2 separate regions of the Homo sapiens genome follow, and region 2 is linked to region 1. The links are contacts of gene promoters, found by promoter capture Hi-C in human tissues and cell types (Jung and others, 2019). All regions are on one chromosome and are shown on one strand. Each heading gives the region's core, a stretch centred on a gene start or on the middle of the fragment in contact. The rest is flanking DNA. Distances are from core to core; before and after follow the strand shown.

The links. The method cuts DNA at HindIII sites, captures the fragments that hold promoters and counts their contacts. A contact is called where the count stands out against the background at its distance.
Region 2: a fragment that was not itself captured here is called in contact with the fragment with the promoter of PSMA5 in region 1 in 2 of the 25 tissues and cell types used here (dorsolateral prefrontal cortex and hippocampus).

Annotation. Positions count from the first base shown.
Region 1 is chr1:109,421,847-109,429,520 of GRCh38, reverse strand. It overlaps PSMA5 (proteasome 20S subunit alpha 5), which reads left to right and starts at 3,073. Exons shown (of 9, transcript NM_002790.4): 1 at 3,073-3,219; 2 at 7,595-7,661. The coding sequence starts at 3,191. RefSeq lists enhancers at 2,513-2,572, 2,079-3,010. The HindIII fragment of the contact is 7,725 bases long and covers 1-7,449 here.
Region 2 is chr1:109,166,013-109,173,686 of GRCh38, reverse strand. ELAPOR1 (endosome-lysosome associated apoptosis and autophagy regulator 1) reads right to left here. Exons shown (of 22, transcript NM_020775.5): 4 at 1,674-1,821; 5 at 1,119-1,199; 6 at 108-213. Among named protein-coding and RNA genes, the nearest start is that of SARS1, 44 kb to the left of the region's middle. The HindIII fragment of the contact is 4,966 bases long and covers 1,220-6,185 here.

The DNA.
Region 1 (7,674 bases), core at 1,824-4,323:
CGGAGGGGAACAACACATACTGGGGCCTACTGGAGGGCGGAGGGTGGCAGGAGGGAGGGGATCAGGAGAAATGACTGGTGGATACTAGGCTTGATACCTGGGTGACGAAATGGTGTGTACAGCAGATCCCCATGGCACACGTTTACCTATATAACAAACCTGCACATCCTGCACATACACCCTGGACTTAAAATAAAAGTTAAAAAAATAAATACTTATTTACTAAACAAATGTATCTAGAGCATATGCCAGGTGCTAGGCTGAACAAGAGAGTACTGACCCTCAAAGAACTCACATTTCCATTATTTTCCTTTTTCCCCCCTTTAACTTAAAAAATTATTTCTGTTGTGGTAAAATATCCTAACATAAAACTTACCATTTTAACCATTTTTAAGTGTACAATTCAGTGACATTAAATACATTCACACTGTTGTGCAACCATCACTACAATCCATCTCCAGAACTTCATTATCATCCCAAACTGAAATGGTGTACCCATTAAACCCATTAACTCCTCATTCCCCTTTTCCTCCAGCCCTAGATAATCACTATTCTACTTTCTGTTTCTATGAATTTGACTATTCTAGGTACCGAACATAAGTAGAATCATACAATATTTGTCTTTCTGTGTCTTGAGATTTCGCCTAGCATAAGGTCTTCAAGTCTAATCCAAGTTGTAGCATGTATCAGAATTTCATTCCTTTTTAAAGGGTGAACAATATTCCTTTGTACGTACACACATTTTAACTTCAATTACTTTTAAATAGCTAATTTCTCATTTTATTTCTTTCAAAGACACATTATGCTAGCTGCTAGATTGTTACAATGCACTCTCTTGGGAGAAAAGATTTTCCTTCCTATCCACAATTACCTGCAGCTCCCCTTCATTTATGTTATATATAGCACAAACACATTTACCCAGAGGAGATTCTACATTCAAGAACATTTCGTAAGCAATTCACTACTGTCTCTGACATTGATAGGGTCTGCAGAGCACCATGGAACCCTGGGTGCTCAGGAAATATTATGCTAAAGTACCTACGTAGTAAAATAACTCCGTTTTTTTTGGTTTTTTTTTGAGATGGAGTCTCACTCTGTTGCTCAGGCTGGAGTGCAGTGGTGAGATCTTGGCTCACCGCAACCTCTGCCTCCCAGGTTCAAGCAACTCTCTGCCTCAGCCTTCCGAGTAGCTGGGATCACAGGCACCCAACATCACGCCCAGCTAATTTTTGTATTTTTAGTAGAGACAGGGTTTCACCATCTTGGCCAGGCTGGTCTTGAACTCCTGACCTCGTGATCCACCCACCTCGGCCTCCCAAAGTACTGGGATTACAGGCGTGAGCCCCTGTGCCTGGCCATAAAAGAACTTCTAAAGAGCAGCTGTAGTGAATTTACGACCAAGACTTTTCCATAGAAAATAACTGATAAGGTGAAAAAAAAAAAAAGCTTGTCAGAAAGCTGACAAGAAAGCTAAAAATTACCATTCTTTTCTCAGAAATCTAACAGATCCCAGAGGATTGCTACTTGGAGTTCTTCCTCAGTTTTATTAGTGCTAAACATCTGATTGGCCAGGGATGACCAAACTAAACTCCTACTGAATCCATGAAGGAAGTCAGAAAATAAAGGGTGGGGAAAACTAATCTTGGTTAATACTCAAAAGGCTTATTTTTACATTTCCTGCACCTTTGAAATGCCTTGGTGACTTACAAACCTAATCTAGGACCAAGAATGAACTTTACTGGAGAGATACAGGCCTTGAGAGGTTAAGGACTTGACTAGTGGTATCACATTAACAACTGGAAATGAGATGCTGGCATTTCCCTTTCCAGCATATACTGCCTGATAAATGATTTCTTTCCCCCGACTCCAGCTTTAAGGTGTAAGTGACAAATAGAAATTGTTCATGTTTATGGTATACAACGTGACGTTTTGATATACATATATATACACACACACACTGCAAATAATTAAATGAAGCTAATCAACATAATCCATCATCTCACATACTTTCCTGTGGTGAGAACATTTAAGGTGTACCCTCTTCACAATTTCAAGTACACAATATATGATTATTAACTATAGAACTCATCCACCTTCTCTGACTGAAACTTTGTATCATTTGACCAACATTTCCCTATATTCCCCACCCCCGTGCCAAGACTTCTTACTTGCCTTTCTTGAACAAATACTTGAATTACAGTGTTATTACGAAGCTGCAAAGTTGCTCCTCAAGCAACTTATTGAAGGGAAGCAAGAAGCGTCGAAAAAGAAAGCGCTTTTTTTTTTTTTTTTTTTTTCGGATAGGGTTTGGCTGTTGCCCAGGCTGGAGTGCAATAGCACGATCTGGGCTCAAAGAAAACACTTATTTTTCACAAACAACAGAAAAAGCAGTGAATATTTTGAAGTCTGGATCCTGAACTCTAGGTTATTTAGGTCTGAAACCTGTACTAGGGGGAGGGGTGCAAGAAAGAGTTGATAAAATTACCTTAACCATGTGGAAACTTTAAGACTTTCTTACATACTAACCCCTCGCCCCCCACTTTTCTCAATAAACGAGCCAAACTGGCTGAAACGAAGGGACTCGTCCGCGGCGCCGGCTCAGACCCACTGTAGCCGACTCATTACCGCCCAAAGTCCTGGAGCCCTCGACCGGGCATGGAGAACACCGTGGAGGAACCCTAAGAGAGGGAATCCTGCGAAGAGAAGTCAGGTGGTGGCCTTGCCGGAAACGGGACCAAAGTCCTCTAGCTGGGATTACGGGAGCCGGCGAGGGACCTATTATGTCAGGGTTCAGACAACCCAGCTCTGCATGCAAGCCTTTCCAATTGCCAGTCTTGGGGCGGGCTCACATCTTCTCTACAAGGCGAACTCACTACACGCCTTGGGTGCCTATCGTCCCTAGCAACCACCCGCGATTTAAGGCGGAAGTACCTCCCTGGTCCTCCTCCTCCTCCGGACCAACCAAGCCCTCGTGAGGAAGCGCGTTGGCCCAATCACCTAGGCGGGAACTACTACCAGCCAATAGGAAGCAGGCACAGGAGGGCGGGCTAAAGAGGTCGCGGTCGCACGCGCAGTTGGTCCTTAGTACTGCGGCCGTGTGGGTGAGTTGGCTGCCGGTGAGTTGGGTGCCGGTGGAGTCGTGTTGGTCCTCAGAATCCCCGCGTAGCCGCTGCCTCCTCCTACCCTCGCCATGTTTCTTACCCGGTCTGAGTACGACAGGTCCGTGCAGCTGGGGGACGTCGGGTGGGAATTATGGGTGGGCAGGCCCGGGACCTGGCCGCGCGGCCTGGGTTCTGCCGTGTCATGGGGCTCCCCAGGAACCCGAGACTGGCCGGACCTGGGGATGTTATGCCCTCCTCAGGCGCCCGCCGTCCTTCCCCAAGCTAGACCACATCGGCGGCACTTGTCCTACCGCTGAGTCACCCCTGGGTCCTAACTCGGTGCGGAAGCGAGAAGCTCCGGCTGGTGCTTGGTAAAGAAGGCGTGAGGAGCCGGAACTCCTACCTTGAACCCGGAGAAGGCCAAGGGTCACTCTTTGCTCCGTTCATCTTTTCGTGCCTAGTATGACTGCCTTGAACAAACAAACAAAAAGTTAAACGTGCTTCCTGGAAGAAAAAGCAACTGGTTTGTAGTAGGGCATGCTGCGGTGTATAGTTTCTTCAGAAGCGCGAAGGCAGTCGTAGCTTTGGCTGGATATATTGTCTGGAGTCTGATTTTATAGGAACTGGAATTTAGAATGGTTTTCAAGAGATTTCTCATCATGCCGATTCCAATTGACCAAAATTTTTTCTGACTTTTTAAAAGTTTAAAGCAAGTTTTAAAAAACTTTTGTGGTATGAAAATGTTCACAATATTAAGTTGTACATATATATGCTGTAGACATTTTTACTTTCAGTTTCTGTTTTCGTCAGTTAAGTTTTTACATAGCTACTCTTTTTTAAAGTCAGGGAAGGCAGACATTTTCTTTGTACTGAGTGGTATGAGATGCTGCATTTCCTGTCAAGTATATGCTGATCCTGTCGAAGTTTTACCACCTGCAGTTACCACTTTTTCATCTTTTTTACTGACTCGTAGAAGATGTGTGTGAAGTTTTGACATATTTCCCCACTGTCCTATAAAGTGACTTTGTTGGTCGATATTTAACTTCCAGAACATTGAAGAGAATCATCTTCGGGTGACATAATTTTGAGTTAGGGTGTGTATGATAGAAATTGTTATGCTTATCAGAAGGCATTTATTAAATTTTGTGGCCATTTACTTAACATATGTATTGACTGCTTTGTTACTTATTTTTCTGTCTTCCCAAGACGGCCTAAAATACATCCCTTTTTATTCTCTTAGTTAATGTGCTTGAGTGCTTGCTGTGAACAAGGCACTGTTCTAGGTGCTGGTGCTACAGCAATGGACAAAATCAAGCTCCTTGCTCGCATATAGGAGACTCTTTTGAGACAGTCTCGCTCTGTGGCCCAGGCTGGAGTGCAGTGACGTGATCTTGGCTCACTGCAACCTCCCCCTCCTGGGTTTTGTTTGTTTTTGAGACGGAGTCTCGCTCTGTCGCCAGGCTGCAGTGCAGTGGCATGATCTCGGCTCACTGCAACCTCCGCCTCCTGGGTTCAAGCGATTCTCCTGCCTCAGCCTCCCGAGTAGCTGGGACTACAGGCGCGCGCCACCACTCCCAGCTAATTTTTGTATTTTTAGTAGAGACAGGGTTTCACCATGTTGGCCAGGATGGTCTCGATCTTTTGACCTCGTGATCCACCTGCCTTGGCCTCCCAAAGTGCTGGGATTACAGGAGTGAGCCACCGCGCCTGGCCTGCCGCCTGGGTTTAAGCAATTCTCTGACTCAGCGTCCTGAGTAGCTGGGATTACAGGCGGTGCCACCACGCCCGGCTAATTTTTGTGTTTTTAGTAGAGACAGGGTTTCCTCATCTTGGCCAGGCTGGTCTTGAACTCCTGACCTCGTGGTCCACCTGCCTTGGCCTCCCAAAGTGCTGGGATTACAGGCGAGAGCCACCTCGCTCGGCCTGAGACTCTTAAAGAATTGTTTACAGGTACAGTGGCTCATGCCTGTAATTCCAGCACTTTGGAAGGCCGAGGCAGGATTGCCTGAGCTCAGGAGTTGGAGACCAGCCTGGGCAACATAGTGAGACCTCATCTCTACTAAACATTAAAAAATATCAGCCGGGTGTGGTGGCGCTGACCTTGTCTCCAAAAAAAAAAAAGAATTGTTTACAGAAGTAACTATAGTGTGAGTCAGAAATATATTAATGCCATTAGAGAAATTCAAATCAATACCATGGAAGTTTTGATGAGGGATTGCATTCAATATGAGACGATCATGGAAAACTTCACAAAGGAGCTGACATTTAAACTAGGTTTCTTGAAAGAGTAGGAATTTAATAAAGACAGTGAGATCAATAGTTGTGGGTTGGAGAATATGGGATAAATGAAGGAGGGGCAATGGAAAAGCACAATACATTTTGGGAAAAGTCCAGTCTGACTGGCACATATGATACGTGTATGGGAACAGCAGGAGATAATGGGAAAAACAGGATGCTGCTAGATATTGAATGGTTTTTAATACGAGGCTAAGGAGTTTGGGTCCTATTTCTGTAGGCAACTGTGTGCTGTTAAATAATAATTGTGTTTTACAGAGATTAATTGTCTGAATTAGGGGAAAGTGAGTCAATACCTGTTAGTGTTAGGCTATTAACAATAGTTAGGTGAAAGGTAATGAGGGCATTGAGAAGGAAGAGTGATGTGTTACTGTGGAGGAGGAATTGATATGAATTGGTATGACTTAGCATATAGTTGGATATGGGAAAAGATGGGGAGGAATGAGTCAGATCATTTAGAACTTCGTATGTTGGGAACACTGGAAGATTTGAGATGTTTTAAATTAAAACTGAAATTGGAATGGCAGGAGATGAAGTCAATTTTGCAAGGTGGCTGGATTTAAAGAGATAATATTTCAAACTGGAAAACGTTAAGTGTTAAGTGCTAATAGGATATGCAAGTGGAAATGTTCAGCAAACATTTAAATTAGTTAGGAAAGAGGTGAAACTGGTAGTAGAGATTTGGAAGTAACTTGTGCTTAGCACTCTCCCAGGCTGGAGTGTAGTGGCACCATCTCGGCTCACTGCAACCTCCGCCTCCTGGGTTCAAGTGATTCTCATGCCTTAGCCTCTCAAGTAGCTGGGATTACAGGCACCTGCCACCACGCCCAGCTAATTTATGTGTTTTTAGTAGAGACGGGGTTTCACCTTGTTGGCCAGCCTGGTCTCGAACTCCTGACCTCAGGTGATCCGCCTGCCTCATCCTCCCAACGTGCTGGGATTACAGGCGTGAGCCACCACGCCAGGCCAAAAGCACTACTATATGACATGTTACCTGTTGTAAAGTCTGGACTCCATAAACCACGGATTGCAACCATCTCATTCATTTGTTCACATATTTTTTGTGTCCATTGTGTGCTCAAAGCTTTTATAGCTGAGACCATGATTGGTGCCTCTTCTCCGTAGGGATTTCCAGCACACTTGAGCAAGGAAAGGTGGAAAGTGTTAAGTGTTAAGGGGAAGTGTTTAGAGAGGAAAGCAGTCTGACATGTAAGTTATATAAATATTGAGTGAATGAACTAGGTTAGAATTAGGAACTACATGGATCTCAGTCTGTTAAGATAACAATAGTAATTCATACAAATAAGTAGAGAAATGTACCTGTGACTAACTTTTAGTAAAAAGTAATAATTAGGCCCAGGCACAGTGGTTCATGCCTGTAATCCCAGCATTTTGGGAGGCCGAGGCGGGTGGATCACGAGGTCAGGAGTTCAAGACCAGCCTGGCCAATATGGTGAAACCCCATCTCTACTAAAAATACAAAAATTAGCCGGGCGTGGTGGCATGCACCTGTAGTCTTAGCTGCTGGGGAGGCTGAGGCAGGATAACTGCTTGAACCCAGGAGGCGGAGGTTACAGTGAGCTGAGATCGCACCCGCCTGAGCGACAGAGCGAGACTCTGTCTCAAAAAAAAAAAAAAAAAAGTAATAACTGTGTTTTATAGAGATTGTCTGAATTAGGGGGAAAACTCTTCCTACTTGCTCCACGAGTCAATACCTGTTAGGAGACTATTACAAACGTTAGGTGAAAGGTAATGAGGGCATTGAGAATGGAAAGAAGAGTGATAACCCCAAGTATTAACGTCATATGCATGTTATGGGAAGAGGATAAGGAAAAATGCACATTTTCTTGGAAATTGGCTGATAGTTTTGAGGCATGAACTTACCAAAGGAACTGGTAAGTCTATTCAGAATGGATCCAAGTTGATTCAGGATTGAGGCAGAAAAGTCATTTGCTCTCATTTCATCAATTTGGGAAGACTTTCTGGGAGTGAGGCAGAAGTGTTCTATATATAGGTTCCATTGCCTTGAGAAACTGTTAATGTACAAAAAAATGCTACAGATTGTTGTGGGCGAAGTAGAGAATAATGACAATGTGCGTATTCTGTAGCTATCTGAGCTAGTTGTCAAGGAACTTGAATTCAGTGTCTACATGGCTAGTTTTTATGAGTATAATTAATAATTTTTTTTTAAATTATAGGGGCGTGAATACTTTTTCTCCCGAAGGAAGATTATTTCAAGTGGAATATGCCATTGAGGCTATCAAGGTATAGTAGCAAG
Region 2 (7,674 bases), core at 2,453-4,952, 260 kb after region 1:
TAGGGAGGAGGAAGAGCACAGAAAAGCAAGGATTCAGCCTGGAGACTGAGTCCCCAGGAGACTGCAAAGTCAACAGCCCAGGAAGTCAGTAACCCTGCTCTCAGTACCTGTTATGGCAATGTTTCTCACCAGCACAGGCTTGGGTACTTTGGTCCATACTGAGAAGGCTGTGGTTCTCCAATAGAGGACATTATTGCCTCGATTTAGCTCCACCTAAAAACCACAAACAGGAGCATTCATTCATCACAGAGAAAAATCTCGCTAATCTGTTGGTATAGCCTCTTGTTGGGATGACTTCTCTTACTAACTGCATGGTAATGCTTCTTCTGACCCTCTTCCTCCTCTTCCTCAGCTCTGTCCTTCTTCCCAACTTAGCACAGCTCCTCTCTCTTTCTAAGCCTCCTCTTACAACCCTCCCACCACTCCCTGGATCATATATACCATGAGCATCTCTTATGGTGAGACCAGTAAAGAGACCTGAGGGTCCTGACAACAGGGTGACTGGCACTCCCTCATTCTTCTGTGGTTTTGCAGGGGGACAGCCCCCCTCCCCAGAATACCCAGTCTTTTTTTTTTTTTTTTTTTTTTTGAGACAGAGTTTCGCTTTTGTTGCCCAGGCTGGAGTGCAATGGCTCGATCTCAGCTCACCACAACCTCCGCCTCCTGGGTTCAAGCGAGTCTCCTGCCTCAGCCTCCCGAGTAGCTGGGATTACAAGCATGGGCCACCATACCTGGCTAATTTTTTTGTATTTTTAGTAGAGATGGGGTTTCTCCATGTTGGTCAGGCTGGTCTCGAACTCCTGACCTCAGGTGATCCACCTGCCTCGACCTCCCAAAGTGCTGGGATTACAGGCATGAGCCACCATGCCCGGCAGAAGACCCAGTCTTAAAGCTGGAAAGCTGCTGGTCTTTGGAGTCAAGCCATAGAAGCTACAAGTCAGCTCACACCCATATTCTGTCAATGCTAGAGGACAGTAACTACAGCATCTTCATCATATCACATTCCTGCCCTCCAGGGACATTGGGGTGGAGGCTCAGACTGGGAGGAAGCACTCTCTGAGGAAAGGCCCTGGGTCCCTTTTCTGGGATCTCTGGGAGAAGGCTGGTGTGATACTCACACTGTGGAATTCCCATCCTTTCTCTGTGGTCTTCATCCACCTGGAGTCATCTGCATTGGGCTGGCACTGGTCATTCTGAACCTGACATAAAAAGAGTTTGGGACCAGAGTCTCAGCTTTCTAAGGAAATGGATACCTTTCCCCACATTGCACCAGCCCTCCAGAGGGCCCTTCTTTATATGGGAAGAGTTGCCAATTTCCTTTAGGGATTGAGCTCAAAACACATGAGCCTCAAAGTAGGGCAGGAGTTAGTCACACACACAAAATGAGCGTTGACACCAAAGAAATAACTTGTAACTCAGATGTGCTGTTTTCATGTCTGAGCTGGATAAAACACTTAGAAATCTGCCAGACAATTCTTCCCCCAATAGTCCTTTCACTTTTGCCTTTTCTTCTTGCCTCCTGGGCCTCAGCTCATTTTGCCCACAGCTCTCTCCAGAGAGAAAACAACAGTGATTCCCCCAAGCAGGGCTACACTCATGATGGATTCCTCAAACGGATCTGAACCCCAGAGAGGCTTTTTAGCTCCCACCCTCCACCTTGGCCAGGGGCTTACGAAAAACTCAAAGATGATGCTGGAGTCTGGATAGTAGTATTCGAAGTTAACGGTGCCAGATTGCTTCAGGTTGACGGCGTACATCAGTGTGGCTGTGCATTCGTCCGTGTTGGAGGCGATGTAGTCGCCCCGGGGAACCCACTTGGACCTGTGAAGGAACAGGAACCAGGTTCACAGGCAGGAGCACAGCCCACCAGGCTTTGTGCCATGTGCAGGTCTCATGTTCTGCTGGGTCTTTGGGAATTTTCAGGCTTGTGATTCACAAACTGAAACTTGGACCTGAAAATGCTCAGTGAAGAAAGACAAAAGAAGCTCTCAGGTAGGTCAAGGACCTGGAGTACAGCTAAGAAGAGGAAGGCAGACAGGTGAGGAAAACAAGCAGGCATGCCTCCACATTGTGCAGAGCTACCTGGGATACGGGTGGCAGGTGAAGTTGGGGAGGGCTAACATCTTTTTTTTTTTGAGGCAGAGTCTCGCTCTGTCTCCCAGGCTGGAGTGCAGTGGCGTGGCCTCGGCTCACCACAACCTCTGCCTCCCGGGTTCAAGCAATTCTCCTGTCTCAGCCTCCCGAGTAGCTAGGATTACAGGCATGCACCACCACACCCAGCTAATTTCTGTATTTTTTTTTAGTAGAGACAGGTTTTCACCATGTTGGCCAGCCTGGTCTCGAACTCCTGACCTCAAGTGATCCACCCACCTCGGCCTCAAAAAGGGCTGGGATTACAGGCATGAGCCACTGCGCCTAGTCAGGGAGGGGTAACATTTATTGGTTGCTTACTACCTTCCAGGAATTGAACTACGTGCTTTATATTCATGATTTATTTTCATCAATAAGAGGAAATGTTTTTTCTGTTTAAGAGATGATGAAACTGGGGCTTGGAGAGTGCCAAGCCCAGTATTACGAAGCAGCGAGTGGCAGGGCTGAAATCAGGTCTGCCAAACTCTAAAGCTGTCAAATAACTCAGTAGACACAGATATTCTTCAGAACTCAGACATCCACCCAGTCTAGTCTACCTGTTTTTCCAGAAATGTCTACTATAAGATGCTGCATGTAAATGGTTTTTATGGAAACAAGGAGGGCCGGAGAACCCTGGAGACAGCCAACCTGGTCATGTCTGTTTTATCTCCTAAATACGTGTTCACTCTATCCACCCTGTCCACGGGCTCTCCCTACACTCACCACCACACCATCTATGAACCAGCCCCCAAACTTGTCTCCCTGAAGCCAGTCCCACATCCTCCAAGCCCTCTGCATGCTGCAGCCCAGCGGACAGATCCTCCAGAATAGACGTCTGACCATGGCACTCCCTTGCTTCAAATTAAAACCCCTGGGACTGACTCCCTGTGGCCCTTAGGATAGGGTACAAATTCCTGATGCACTCTATATACTTCAACTCTATGACATTTCTTTCAATTCCTCTGCCAAGCTTTCTCTTACCTCTGGGCCTCCTGACATCCTCTTCCCTCTTCCTGGAATGAACTTCCTCCTCTCTCTCTCAGTTTAACTCCTACTGTGTCTTAAATGTCACTTAATCTAAAAAGTCTTCCTTGATTCTATCTGCTTCTGCTATGGGTGCCCTTAGCTCTCTTTGCTCTCCTTCTCATAGCCATAATCCCATGATATTTTATATATTTTTAGTATATTATGAAATATGTAAGACCTATACAATGGTGTAATGAACACTCCCCGACCCATCACCCTGCTTAAGAAGTTCAACACAGCAGAAGCCTCTGCGTACCCTCCACTAACCTCATCCCTTTTCCTGGAACACACTGCCTTCCCCACTGCCAAGTGACTAATTTCCTGAATCTGGTGTTTAACATGCGCATGCGGTTCTCTACATGTATGTATCTCTAAACAACATACTGTATGGTAGTGCTTCGCATGTTTTCAAGCTTCACATAAATGGTATTATATTTATGGGCTCTGAAACTCACTTTGGGAAGGAAGGGACTTCAATATACTAACTGTGAGATTCATCCATATTCACACATCCAGCTTTTTTGGCTTCGTCTTTACTACTGCATAACATTCCTTTGTACGGCTCTGCCATATATATTTGTGCATTACTCGTTGATGGACATTTGGATTGTTTGCAGTTTCATGTGCACATTCTGCTGTGTTCCTGTCTCCTTAGGCACATGTCTGAGTAGAAAGCCTGGGAGGAGAACTGTATGTGAGCCTCCCATTTACCAGCTACTGCTACACTGTTCCTGTTGCTCCACATCCTCTCCAAATTTGAAACTGTCAGACCTCAAAATTGTTGCCAATATTATGTGAGGGAAGAGACCAAATTTACCTTACTCACTAAAGTATTCCCAGCACCAGCCTGGACCTGGCACATAGTGGGGAGTCACAGGGTTAAAGAGTTGAATGTGGAAACAGGTAATCGAAAACACTCACGCTATTGCACTGTTTTGCCTGAGACCAGCCCAGGTTTCCAGTTGCTTAATAATGGCCAGTTGGGTGGGCGTGGTGGCTCATGCCTGTAATCGCAGCACTTTGGGAGGCTGAGGCGGGTGGATCACCTGAGGTGAGGAGTTCGAGACCATCGAGACCAGCCTGACCAACATGGTGAAACCCCATCTCTACTAAAAATGCAAAAATTAGCTGGGTGTTGTGGCACGTGGCTGTAATCCCAGCTCCTCAGGAGGCTGAGGCAGGAGAATCACTTGAACTTGGGAGGCGGAGGTTGCAGTGAGCCGAGATTGTGCCATTGCACTCCAGCCTGGGTGATAAAGCGAGACTCCATATCAAAATAATAATAATAATAGCCAGTTAAAGGAATCTCAGATTAGTCCACAGATTTCCCCCTGTGTTTGTCAGAATAACATGGTTATTTTCAGCTCTTTGACAGTCAGTGTTATTCTCAAAACGAAAACATATAACATGAGCTCATCCAAAATATCCCAGCTAACCTAACAGCATTGATTTCTCCTTGTTGAAAGGGATAACCTTTAATGCTGATATGCTCCACGACATCAGCTATAAATAACTCTTGAAGTTTAATAAATAATTTAAAAGATGCCATAAGTGGGTTACATTTGCAAAATGCATCATAATTCTGATTTTTGTCAGAATTGCCCCCGGTGAAGACATTTCATATTCAATAATAACAACATGTTTTGATTGATTTCTAGTGTCAGGCATCGCTCTAAATTCTTTACAAGTATCATCTCATCAATCCTTACCTCAACTATAAGAGTACTATTTTTATCATCATTTTTAGAATGAAGAAACTGAAGCCCAGAAGTGCTTAGGAAACTTACCCTAGGTCATCCAGTTGTGATCTGCATATAATGTTTTTCATTTTTAATGTTTACATTTCTCTCTCATTCTTGTTTCACTGTCACAGTCTTTGGGCGTCTGCTTGATCTTTTCCACTAATATATGACATTCTTTCTATTACACCCACGTCACTCCTGTTCCCTTAGCTTATCCTAGTTTCTGATCTCAGGCCAGTACCTTAGCCCTGGGACATCAACCCAGGACCCATGGGAGGATCCCTGAAGGCTCAGAATCCTGCCATGGAGACTCCGTTCAGCTGGTCTGTTTTGTCCCCAATTATTTATTTTGTCTATTTTGAGCCAGACACTATGTTAGATGCTGGAGACACAGTGATGAACAAGACAAGTATGATCCTTTCCCTCTTGGGGCTTGCATTCTCTTTCTAGTTGAGGAGACAGAAGCTTAACTAATCACACAATCACATAGCAATGACTGTGATAAGTGCCATTGGAGAAATGCAGGATGATAAAGAGAGTGTAACAGGAGTCTGTGGGGTCGGGGATGGTTTCTTTGAGGAAGGGATTTTTAGGTAGAGACCTGAGGGTTAAGTAGGAGACATAGAAGAGGGGACAGAGAGTCACATGTTCAAATGCCCTGAGGAGGGGAAGGAGTGTGATGGTCAGTGTGGCTGGAACACAGCAAGTGAAGACAGAAGGAACTTGGGAGAGGCTGGGGAAACAAGCAGAGGGCAGGGGGCAGGGCAGCAGGGCCCTGCAGGCTGTGGGAAGGTAGTGGACTTTATCCCAAGAGCAATTGGTAGCCATTGAATCTAGGGTTTTGAGCGGGAAAGTACTGTGACTGGATTTAAGGAGATGAGGCTGGGTGCAGTGGCTCACATCCGTAATCCCAGTACTTTGGGAGGTTGAGGCGGAAGGATCATTTGAGCCCAGGAGTTTGAGTCCAACCTGGGCAACATAAGTGAAACCGTGTCTCTAGAAAAATAAGAAGTTAGCCAGGTGTGGTGGCATGAGCCTGCAGTCCCAGCTACGCGGGAGGTTGAGGTGGGAAGATGGCTTCAGCCCGGGGAGGTTGAGGCTGCAGTGAGCTGTGATTGCGCCATTGCACTCCAGCCTGGGTGACAGAGTGAGACCTTGTTTCTTAAAAAAAAGAAAAAAGAAAGATGAATCTGGCTGCTGAGTGGACAGGCCTGGAGGAGGCTGGGAATGGAAGCAGGAGATGAGCTTGGAGTCTCTTGAGGCAGAGCAGGCAGGATTTGGGTAGCTGCACAGCTGAATAGGAAAGCCAAATACTTGCGCTCTAGGTATTAGCTCAATTATTGCCTTTCTGAGGGATGATGGGGAAACCACAAAAGCTCTCCAGATGGCCATTTCCTCTCCATTGACAGAGAAATATCCTCTCCCTCCCTCCCCGGGATGTCGTGGGATGCCTTAAGATGCAGGCCCTGAAATAGTCCGTGCGGTGGAAACACAAGTTGTTATTAACCCACCCACATCCTGCCTCTCTGAGAGATAATGATTTCTGGACTCTCGGTGCAGTCCCCAGAGAGAGAAGAAATCCTTCCTTTACATGGGTAGGAATTGACTGAGCCATGTCTGCACCTTGTCCAGGGCCTAATGACATTCTCAGTTAGGACTCAAATGGGAGTTGGTTGTCTTAACCCACACATTCCCGCTCCTTCCAGCTTTAAAGCTCTCTAGCTTTATCTCTGCCTCCAGTATTGTCATGCTAATGAATCTGACACACCAAGTTGAACTCTAAAATAACATAACATTAAAATTGGACTACAGATTAAATAGCCACTGCTTGGCTTAGACAAGATTTAAGTATAGGAATGGGAAACATTGCTCCCGGTTTTTAGAAATCCAAGTGTAATACAATTCTTGAGTCCTTCTTATCCATTTGATTGTTTGGGTATAAGTGAAACTTTCACTTGCTTTCCTCCTGTATTCACTGTCCATATTTAATAAGGAACAATATGGCTGCCTTTCACATCCTCATATCCCCCCACTTTCGCTCCCTAGGACCCAGTGTTGCCTTGCCCATAATAAATGTTATTTGAATGTGGCATTATGGAGCAGTGGAAGCTTGGGTTCGAATTTCAATCTCGCCGGCTGTAAACCGGATAACAAAGAGCAGGTCATAACCTTGCTGAGCTTCCAGTTCCTCGTCTCTGTAATAGAAATAGTAATGCCTATTTCACAAGGTTCTTGTGAGAATTAGAGAAAATAATATATGTAAAGCATCCAGAATAGTGCCTGGCCTACAAAAGACATATCTGAAATAGATATCCAGTTCTCCAAGCACCCTGGACTGAGCTTTCCAAGAAAATTTGCTAGTCATTGGGGTCTCACAGCATTTGGAAGATTTCAGCCAGCACTGGGCAAAGGCTAGGCAGAATCAGTTTCAGAAGTTAGCAGCCAAGGTGGCCCATGCCTGTAATCCCAGCACTTTGGGAGGCTGAGGCAGGTGGATCACCTGAGGTCAGGAGTTTGAGACCAGCCTGGCCAACATGGTGAAACCCCATCTCTACTAAAAAAATACAAAAAAATTAGCTGGGTGCGGTGGCTCACGCTGTAATCCCAGCACTTTGGGAGGCCGAGGCAGGTGGATCACGAGGTCAGGAGATCGAGACCATCCTGGCTAACACGGTGAAACCCCATCTCTACTAAAAATACAAAAAATTAGCTGGGCGTGGTGGCGGGTGCCTGCAGTCCCAGCTACTCGGGAGGCTGAGGCAGGAGAATGGCGTCA